Regions from separate parts of the Homo sapiens genome. Here region 2 is linked to region 1. Evidence: promoter capture Hi-C in 16 types of primary human blood cells and fetal thymus (Javierre and others, 2016). All regions are on one chromosome and are shown on one strand. Each heading gives the region's core, a stretch centred on a gene start or on the middle of the fragment in contact. The rest is flanking DNA. Distances are from core to core; before and after follow the strand shown. Region 1 holds the start of TSPAN18 (tetraspanin 18). Region 2 overlaps LOC105376652 (a long non-coding RNA gene).

What was found. Contacts are between HindIII fragments. The CHiCAGO score rates a contact against its expected background, and 5 or more counts as called.
Region 2: a contact is called between a fragment that was not itself captured here and the fragment with the promoter of TSPAN18 in region 1, in 5 of 17 cell types (M2 macrophages, M0 macrophages, total B cells and 2 more). The highest score is 9.4, in M2 macrophages.

The regions. Positions count from the first base shown.
Region 1 is chr11:44,724,551-44,729,680 of GRCh38, forward strand. It overlaps TSPAN18 (tetraspanin 18), which reads left to right and starts at 2,412. Exons shown (of 10, transcript NM_130783.5): 1 at 2,412-2,737. The region is part of intron 2 of TSPAN18-AS1 (TSPAN18 antisense RNA 1); the gene reads right to left. RefSeq lists enhancers at 940-1,800, 1,801-2,662, 2,029-2,198, 3,914-4,416, 4,417-4,917 and silencers at 2,389-2,538, 3,375-3,544. The HindIII fragment of the contact is 6,014 bases long and covers 1,562-5,130 here.
Region 2 is chr11:45,106,212-45,111,341 of GRCh38, forward strand. LOC105376652 (a long non-coding RNA gene) reads right to left here. Exons shown (of 6, transcript XR_931241.3): 4 at 4,810-4,965; 5 at 897-1,109; 6 at 274-547. It also overlaps a transcript of PRDM11 not described here. Among named protein-coding and RNA genes, the nearest start is that of PRDM11, 38 kb to the right of the region's middle. RefSeq lists an enhancer at 4,427-4,721. The HindIII fragment of the contact is 3,233 bases long and covers 720-3,952 here.

The DNA.
Region 1 (5,130 bases), core at 1,162-3,661:
TTCTAGCCTTTGGTAACCTTCCTTTCAAAGAGAAAGTGGGACCTCAGCTTCAACACCTCCTCAGGCAGCAGTATCTTGTTAGACTGTATTATTATTATTGTGGTTAAAGATACATTGTTAGAATTTAATAACACTTATTTTCATTGTATTTATTTTGATGGTTACCTTCTATTTATAGTAATGTGATGCTGGCTTTCCATTTATGGTAATAATTTAACATATCTTTTTAAAAACAAGCTCACTTAAGTAAATTAAAAAAGAATGAAAAAATAAGAGTTGATTTAGAGAAGCCTATTCAGCAGATGTCCTTAGCTAATGCACAGATAGGGCCAGGTCCTCCATGGAGGCTGGAGAGAGGCTGAGGTCCAGGAAACTGACTTGGAACTGGAGTCAGGGACCGAGCTGGTTGTCTAAGTTGTGCAGCGGGTCTGCACTCTCTTCCCCTGCGCCTGCCCCGTTCTGCCAAGCCCCAGACCCTTAGAGACTCTATCCCTCTCTCTGCCTGTCTCTGGTCTCCACTTCCCCAGCTCCAGCACCCTTGCTGTGGGCTTCCCGTTTTTCCTCTTTAAATGTATGTGGCGCCTGGTGTCCAAGGAGGCTCACACGGGGCCTCTCCCAGCAGCATTCCACAAGTGCAGGGCCTGTGGGGTGTTCAGCCTCCACCCTCCATTCTGTTTTGGCAGCTGAAGGGTGAATGTGGAGCCCTTCTCCTTGTCCTCCTCTTATAGAAATTCCACCATTAGGGACTTCCTCCCCTTGGGTGAAGCTTTGCTCACTCTGGGTCCCTTTGAAACCGCGGATCCAGGGATTTTTCTTCCAGCCACGTGCCTACTCTAAGAGTCCCGGTGACGCGGTGAAGTTCTTTAAAGGACCAGACATCCCTGAAGTCCTTACAGGGACATCCCCTTACAGGGACGAATCCATTTCCTGGAATGTGGGCAAGGAAAGGCAGCCACTTCCTGCCTCTCAAAACTCTGGCTGGTGGCTGGGTGCAGTGGCTACGTCTGTCATCTCAGCACTTTGGGAGACTGAGGTGGGAGGATCACTTGAGGCCAGGAATTGGAGACCAGCCTGGGCAACATGGTAAGAGTCCAGCTCTACAAAACACACACGCACACACACACACACACACACACACACACACACACACACACCAAAAACAACAGAAAACATTAGCCAGGCATGATGGCACATGCCTCTGGTCCCAGCTACTCGAGGGGGCTGAGTTGGAAGGATTGGATTGCTTGAGCCCAGGAGGTCGAGCCTACAGTAAGCCGTGCAGGAGGTCGGGCTACAGTGAGCTGTGCTTGTTGACCAGGCTTGTCCAGCCTGGTCAGCAGAGCGAGACCTTGTCTCAAAAACAAAACAAAAACAAAACAAGAAGATCCCCCTCCCCCCAAACTCTGCCCAGTGGCCTGACTACCAACATCCATATACAAGACAGGAGTAGGGTCAACTCCTTCCTATCAGTCACCCCTTAGTGAGAATCAGCTGGCCAAGGGGCCTCCTGCAGAGCTGATGTGTGCTTGAATGCCTAGGGCCCACGGGGATGGGGTGTGGAAGCTTCAAGCTGGGACTCAAAACAGAGTTGCCAAGGGAAGAGGAGTGGGCGACCCGAGCCCCTGTCATCAGTACTTTCACTTGGGCTGTCAGTTTTGATCTGCTTGCTTGTCCGTTTTGTCTGGGGCAGGGTCGGGTAGTTGTTTAGAGGAGGCTCAGAGGTTAAAAGTCTCAGGCAAGTCATGTCAGGGGTTGGGAGCCAGTGCTGCTGTGGCAGCAGTACAGAGAAGAAAAGATAAGCTCCCCAGCCCCGCAAGAACCTCAGCCCTGAGGCCGGAGACACAGATCTGGCCCCTTGCAATCAAGTCATTTGCATCTGACCTGGGGTCAGGCCCCTCCATGCAGGAAGTCCCCTTTCTTATCTGCAAGTCAGAGGAGGGTGAGTTCCCCAGGCTTTCAACAGGTACTTCCCCCGGCAGCGGGAAGCCCAGGAGCCCGATCAGGACCGAGGATCTCACCCCAACCCCTGCGTTTGGGCCCCGGGGTCAGCTGAAAGTTCCCCTGGAATAAACACTTCGGGTCCAGCATGCCCCTCTCCCCACTCCCGCAACGATCTTCCGAATTCAGACGCAGAGAGGGCCCGCGAGCAGAGCGGGAGGTGGTCGGAGGCGGAGGAAGGGGAGATGGGCAGAGGGTGGGCCCAGGGACCCCCAGACAAGGCCTGGACGCGGGGTTGGAGGAGGAGGCGGAGGCTGGCGGGAGGCGAGGGGCAGCCCGCAGAGGAGACGCGCTTCTCGGCAGCAACGGCGTCTGGAGCCGGGAGGGGCGGAGGTTTGGGGAGGGGGAGGGAGGGCGGGGGAGGGGAGGGACGGACGGCGGCGGAGGTGGGGCCGGCGGGCTGGCGGGCGTGCAGCTGCCGCCGGCGTCGCGGGGCTCCAGGCTGCGGGGCGGACGTAGCGCCGAGCGATCCACCGCGGAGCCGCGCGAGGCCGCCCGAGCCCCAGCCCCGGCCCCGGCCCCAGCCCCGGCCCCGGCCCCGGCCCCGGCCCCGGCCCCGGTCCCGGCCCCGAGCCCCGAGCGAGCGCCGCCGCCTCGCGCTGCGGGTCCCCGGACGCGCCGCCACCGCCGGGAAGGCAGCCGGCGCCGGGCAAGTTGCGAGCGCGCCCCTCCGACCAGGAAAGTTTCCCCCCGGCCGCCGGCGGGATTTGGCGCGGGGTCCGGCAGCCGCCGCTGGAAGGTATGGGGCTCCGCACCTCCGTGCCCTCCGCACGCCGCCGCCGCGCCCCCGGGGACCTGGGGACCCCCCCGCGCGCCGCCCCGGGGGTGCTGCTGGACGCGGCGGGGAATTGGGGTGGAGTAGGGATCCCAGGACGGAAGCCCGGCAACCAAGTTCCACTCAAACTAGCACGCGGGGGCTGGGGGGCCGGGGACGGTCTCCACCCCGTGCCTGCCCGGAGTCCGCTGAGGGCCGGGGGCTGCGCCCAGGACAGGTGCAGAGCCGGTGGGCTCCCAGTGCTCCGGGTGGAGGAGTGGGGGCTTCTGGAGAACGGCGCGGGGTGGCAGGTGTGGTTACAAGGTTCGGGGTTTCGGCCAGGGCTGCGCCCGGAAAGGGGCTGCTCGCCACGCCACCCGGTAAGACAGTGAGGGACCAGGGACTGGGAGCGGCGATCGGGGCCGGGAGGGCTGTGGGGCCCGGCAGCTGCATGGAGGGCGGGCTGCCTTTGGGGTCCCTGGCAGCGGGGCGGGGCGGGGCGGAGGCGCCACTCGTTCCTCCAGGACCCCCCTTATTCCTTAGGTGTGTGCGGTTTGGGGAAGTGGAGACTCCATGGAGTGCTGGGTGGGTGGGAGGCTCGGGCACGTCCAGATTTAGGGGGCAGTGGGAGCCAGTTGGGACGGTGCTCGGCTCGGGTGGGATCGCGCCGGCTCCGGGTCCTGCTGGAGTGAGGTGACTGGGCTCCCGCCAGGGGGCGCACTGCCCCGGCCCTCGCCAGCAGGAAGCGCGTTCTGGCTCCTGCGAGGCAACCGCGCCGACATCCAGGACGCAGGGACCACAGACACCCAACTTACGCGGGGTCCCGCCCCGAGGAGCCCGCCCTACACTAGCCAGACGGGGGAGCGGGACCAAGAGTGAGGCGAAAGGTTCACAGTTATAACTGCGCCGTGGGCTGGAAAGGCTAGGAGTCAGGATGTGATTTTTCTCGGGAAGGCTGCCAGGGCAAATGGATGAGTAAGAAATTTACCCCCAGAAAAAGATGTAAGAAACTACAACTGCGAATTGGTGCAGAGAGAGTGGGTTGGGGAATTAACTTTTTGACGGTTTTTGGAGTTGCAGAAACCCAAACCCCAAAATGCATGCACCCTTTTTGTAAAAGTTGCACCTTTGTTTCCTGGATCTGGTCGAATCCCTGTCTGGTGAAGGCAGGATGGGGGTCTTGGGGTATCCTCTCTCTGGGCACAAGTAAACTGGGAGGCACAGGGCGGGCGGTGGGGGATGGGGCCTTAAAGACTTCAGCAGTCCAGGCAGAAGTGTTAAATTTCTCAGCAGTCAACGAGCCCTGGCCCCCACCCTCATCCCCTGGGTCTGTGGTCTCTAGGCCACATTCTTCTGGTCATTTCACAATTATTGGTGGAAATCTGCCCTGGGTCCCAGTTGTCTGGCCTCAGGGTCCCTGTATGTTGAGTCTGTGTGTCTGTGCCTTGGGAAGTCGACGGCTGCTGGCATCTGTGAGGACTGTCATCTTTGTCATGTGCGGGGCTAACATTGAAGGGACATTGGAGGGACTATTGCCTCATCTTTCTCTCCAGTTCCCTCCCTCCTCCCATCACCCCAAGTGAGTGCAAAGGAGCAAATCATAGATTGTGCCGTGGCCTCATTGTGGTTGGTAGAAGTTTTCATCTTTCTCTTAGCTGGTAACCTGTGCTCCTTGGGCAGCCCCCCTCCTGCTCCCATGTCCTTAATGTCCCTTACAAAGGTGGGGGAAATGGGGGTCCCTGAAAGAGATGAGGTTCCTCTGTTCAATGTAGTCTGCCACATGTTTTTGTTGGATGCTACTGAAATGCTCCAGGACAAAGTTGCCATAAAGACAGATCAGCATGATTTTTATTTTGAATAGAAGAGGAGGAGGAGAGAGGAGAGAAAGGAAAGGGTGGAGAAGCCTGCTGTGTCTGGATAGGTCTTTAAGACATTCCAGGGGGCTGGAAAACAAAAGAAGTTTTTTTTTGTTGTGTTTTGCTTTTAGTGACTCTTGTTTTTCTGTGGAGGGAAGCCTGCATGGACCAGCCCTGCCTTGGAACCTGCCTGGGAGCATGGGGCCCCTAGAAGGCCAGCGTTTCCCGTGTTCTGTCCCTCCCCTCTTCTCCCTACCCCCACCCCACTTTTCCTGAATTGGAGAGGGAGTTGAAGGTCCCCAAGGGCTACTAAAGTCTGTGTTTGGGCTTAAAGTATCTTGTGTGGGCTCAGTCTTCTCCCAGGCAAACTCCAAGATCTCTGATTTAGCAACATTTCAAGTCTTGGGCACTCTGTTTCCTTGTCTCCCTTGTCCCCAAACCCATTCAAACAGCCAGTATATGTGGTGCTTTTACCCAACCCCAGTCTGAAATGGTAGCACATCATTGAAAGCTCCAGGACAC
Region 2 (5,130 bases), core at 1,086-3,585, 380 kb after region 1:
TAGGAGGTCCCAAGCTCCTGCGCTTCCAGGGGCTCAGCAGTTTACACCCCGTTGGCAGCCCCAGCTTAAGGTGCAGGCTCCCTCGCAAGCCACACAGCCGTTCTCGTTGGAGGCCCTGCCACCTCTTGGGGTGCAGGGATTGGTTTCCTGTCACCCATGGGTCCCACCACCCTCAGGGCCCTTTATAGGCTGGGGTGATTTTTGCTTTCTTTGCTGGTTCTCTCACGAGCTAGATGTTCTAGTTATACTGCTATGCTACAAACCACCCCAAAATTGAGCACATAAGACAGCCATTTTATTATAGCCATGGATTCTGTGGGTCAGAAATTTGGAAAGGGCATCATGGAGACAGTTTACCTCTGCCCATAATGCCTGAGGCGCCGGCTGGAAGATTAAGGCTGGGGTGACTTGACGGTGGTGGCAGGAACCCTCTGGTGGGCATCCTCACGTGCAGGTCTGAGGCCGACACGGGCTGCCACCTGGGACACTGACCCATCTGCTCCACTCCACGTGGTCTGTGAGTTCTTTTTAGCACAGCAACTGGGTTCTAAGAGTGGATGTCGCAGGAGAGCAAGGCAGAAATGCGTGGCATTTTCTAGATCTAGCCTGGGAAGTTACAGAGCATCTTCTGCCATACTCTACTGGTCAAGGCAGTCACAAAAGTCTATGAATCAGAGATGTGGGGTGGAGTTGGGCTCAGATTGAGCACTGAGTGAAAAAGCTTCACTGCAAACAGGGATACCCCCAGAACAAAGTCCAGGCTTTGTGGGGAGGAGAAATGAAGCAGATCTGCTAAAGCCAAAAGATGGAGAACTGCTTCTGTCTGTGAGTGGGGTGGGTTGGCCAGCAATACCTGGGCTTCACAGGTCAGTATGGGGCTGGCTGAAGGCACCCACCTGGTGTTTAGGGGGCCCAGGGGCCTCCATAGAGCAAGATAAGTGCCACGTTAGCACACCAGGGTCACCAGGCAGCCAGGACAGGTGACTATCTCAGGGTCTGATGGAAGCTCAAAGTCCAGATGCTCTGCTCAGCCCACTCCCGGGCTCCACACTGGTCTCCACCATCTGTGTGACCTGGGCTGATGACATCTTCGAACTCCACTTTCTCACCTGCAAAACGGGGCTAATTATAGTTCAATGAGTCATAGCCCATTTCAGGGGCAAGTTCTAAATCAGTAAGGCAAAAATTAGGTACACACAAAACGACCCTTGAGAACCTCTTATGCTCCCCACCAGCATGGATACACATGGTTTTGTGTATACAGTTGTGAAGAGTAAGTCTAATGAATGTCAAATGTGGACAACTGATGAAGCAGAACAGAGGGTGGATGGGGTGCAGTGGGAAAGCCAAGAGGGAGGTCTGGACTTCTGTGCCATCTGCCTTTAAGGAAATGCCCATCTCTAGTTGAGTGGGGGACAGGGCAGGGGTAGGGGTGGGGTTCCTCTAAGCCTGTCAGGTTTGCTGACTGGCTTTTCCGTGTTGCTTTCACACCAATCCTCTGTAGTGTTAAATGAACTGATAGATTTGCGTGGCATTGTACAAATTAAACTAGTTAATATACATAAAGGCTCCAGCACAGTTCCTGGCATATAATAAGTGCTCAATAAATGTGGGTTGGATTTTTTTTTTTTTTTGTGAGACAGAGTCTCGCTCTGTCACCCAGGCTGGAGTGCAGTGGTGAGAGCTCAACTCATCGCAACCTCCAACTCCAGGGTACAAGTGATTCTCATGTCTCAGCCTCCCAAGTAGCTGGGACTACAGGTCTACACCACCATGCCTGGCTAACTTATTTTGTGTGTGTATTTTGTATTTTTAGTAGAGACAGGGTCTCACCATGTTGACTAGGCTGGTCTCAAACTCCTGGCCTTGGCCTCCCAAAGTGCTGGGATTACAAGCGTGAGCCACTGCACCCCGCCCTGGATTCATCTTAATCTCGCTTGATCAGACCCATGCACGTGGCTCATTTTCAGCCAGTGCTGCCATCCTGGTTGTTAAAATATCAGCATGTGTCCACTCCAGTTGGTAAATAGCTGCTGTCTAATTCCCCATGAGTGTGACCCGCTGCCCTGCTGCCCTGGCCTCTTACGTGGGATCCCCGTGTCTCCCCATGATGCAGCAGCTTGAGGGGTGGCCTTGGTCCAATTGGGCCCCTGGGACCTGCTCAAGTACCAGGCCAGGTCTGTTCTGACTGTTGGTCCCATGAGCTTCTGGGGTTAAATATTTCAAAGATCACTCCTGCCCATGTGCCCACTGCTCTGTGAAAAGCTGGAAGCAGCAGCCAGGCACTGCCTCCTGCACTCTCGGCTGGCATTTCCTGCTGGGGCCCACGGATCCCTTGCTCAGCCTGGGCTCTGGCTCCTGCCCTTGGACAGGATTCCAGAGGCAGGTGTGTCCTCATGGTGGGGCCTCACTCCCGAGTGAGGACGAGCTGCCTCCTTTCAGGGAATGTGGTGCCCAGAGGCACCAGGGGCCTCTCAGTGGCAGCTGTCTTTGAAGTCCTTGGACCCATTTCTCCCCAGCCCTGCCTGTAGCTATGTGGGGACCCAGGCCCAGTGCCACTCAGACTTTCTCAGCCTGCCCCTGAAATACCCACTAATGCCAACCAAGAATTAACACATGCACCCGCAGGCCAGGCAGCCTGCCTGAAGCAGCTGACACAAGTGTGAAATTTCTTTGAAGTCTTGGGTTTTGTCTCAAAAAATACACGCAGATTCTGCATTCTGCTCCATAATGTTTCCATTTTTGTTTAAATCTAAAAATAGGGCTTTAAATGACTTCCAGTGAAGAAAGTTGCCTCTCCAGGAAGATGTCGGGGCTTAGCCTGTGAGACTGTCAACACCCCTGGCCACAGGCCTCTGGGCACTCAAGGCTGGAAACCGAAAAATGTTGTCCCCGCCCCTCAGGAAAGGTTGAGTCTGACTTTTCACCTCTGACCTGTGCTTAGGCACCCTCTTTGGGTCACCTCCTATTTCTGTCCCTCTGAAACTGCAGTTGGCCCTGACCCAGAGTGGTGAGGAGTGGCGGTCTCTTGCTACTACAGGTAGGATGCAGGCTTGGCAATGCCAGTGGCCATGGTTCTACCCACCCCTGCCTTGAAAGGAAAATAGCACAGCTCAAGAAAAGGGACACCCAGAGACAGCAGTGCCCTGACAACATCACTCACTCTCCTTGACCCAGCATCACCTTGGATGTCGCAGGGCTATGTGACCAGAAATTCCTCATGTTGCCCCTAAACATGGTGAGGCCCTGTCTCTACCATGCACAGATGAAAAGAGTCCTAATTAATCAACTCTCCCTAGAAAGGAGACCACTCGGAGGAGCCCTACTCATTCTCAAAATATTCAGAGGCTATCCTGCGGAGGAGGGAGAGTATCTGTTCTCTGTGGCTCCACTGGGCCACAACCAAGACTGAGGTGTGGGAGATGGAACAGGGCAGATTTAGGATGGTGGGAGGAAGTGCTTTCTGAGTCAGATCTTTCCAGGGAAAGCAGGGCCTGCTTATCAGGTAGTGAGCTCCTGTCCCTAGGGGTATGTAAGTGTAAGCTGATAACCTTCTGGTAGCAAAAAGGTAGAAAGATTGAAGCACTAGATGGGGAAGGGTGGGCTTTTGTCTCTAAAATTCCTTCCCTTTCTGAGTCTCTGGTTCCATGATACTCTCTAAGCCCTGTTCAGGGATGTTTCCTCCCCATTCCAGTGTCCAGGGTTGCTCACAGTCACCACTCCTTTCAAAGCTGGAGGCACTGCAGCAGTGAGCAGGTGGGCATCTGTGCCCTGTGTGACCTGCTGATAGCATAGACGTGGTTATCAGCCCTCTATATGTCAGGATTCTGACTAGGAAAACTCAGTGACCCAAAGTGACCTTCATCCAAACCTCTCCTTTATTTCTGTAGTTTATACACTTTGCGTGCAAACACCCCTGGGAGGGACAGTACCTACACCTTTGGCAATGCTAAGCTTCACACAAAGAATTTTTCATCTCCTTTCTTGGATCGGGGTGGCTTTTATTTTTCTTCCAAGAACAACTAATCCTTATGCAGACCCAAGAAGTGGCAGCTAAGCTTCGGAGCCAGAAAAATGAGAGCCCTGAGTACATGCCCTTACAGAGATCTGGCTTGCCCACATGTCACCCCCAACCCTAATTGAACTCACCAGGAAAACGTAAAAGGGGGGTGGGGATGAGAGGTGGGGCATTTAGATAGCATTACAATTTTTCTAAAGGGCCAGGTAGGAGTTTGAGGAATTTCTTCTAAGCCAGTCACTGATGGGGCCAGGTAGGAGAAATACCCTGAAAGCAACATGCAGCCGGACCCAACTATCTGTGAGCTGGAACCGCCAAGGGGCTCTCCTCTGACCTGGGGGCTAAAGTGCCCAGAAAGAGGACAGGCCGCTGCTCTGGCCTCCCCGGCGCAACGACCTCACCAAACAAGGCCCCTTCAGGAGTGTCCTGGACCGGTGGCCACGAATTGCAAGGCCTCGCTTGCTCTATACAGGTTGTGCAGGACATAATCCAGGTGCGGGGTGCAAGGAGCTTCACATCCCATTCCCTCACCCATTTGTAAAGGTGTTACTTCATTTGTCCAGCAGATGGCAGTAAAGTATCCCAAACAAGAGGCGCCTTTCTTTGCGTTGCCCAGAAACCACTGGTTCTGCTCCTGGGTGGCAGAAAACTTGGAGAAGACAATCAGCTCTCCAGATTCCAATCTAAGAGTCAGATTCCCCCCTTACCCCCCTTTTTTTCTTTCTATTTCCACAACTATTTTTAATAAAAGCTTTACAGTTTTCGACGTCCAATGGTTCCCCGAGACTTACCATAAAACTCAGCTGCCACCTCCCCACCTCATCTCACCAGCTCTCTGGGACAGGCGACCACTTGCAACTCTGGGAGGTGTCTCTTCTGTTTTTAAATCTCCATAATTCTAAGCACTAGTTCTTGATTTCACCATTTTCGACACCATCTTTGACTTACTGTGATGGAAGATGAAGATTTATCTTTCTTACAATCCATCCCACCCTGTCCCTCCACCACTTCCCCTCCCATCTCTCTCCCAGCATGTCTCCCTATTTTTGGTTCTTGATATTTACTCGTCTTCTTTGCCATCTCTGGACTTACGGGGTGCCCTCTATGCCAAA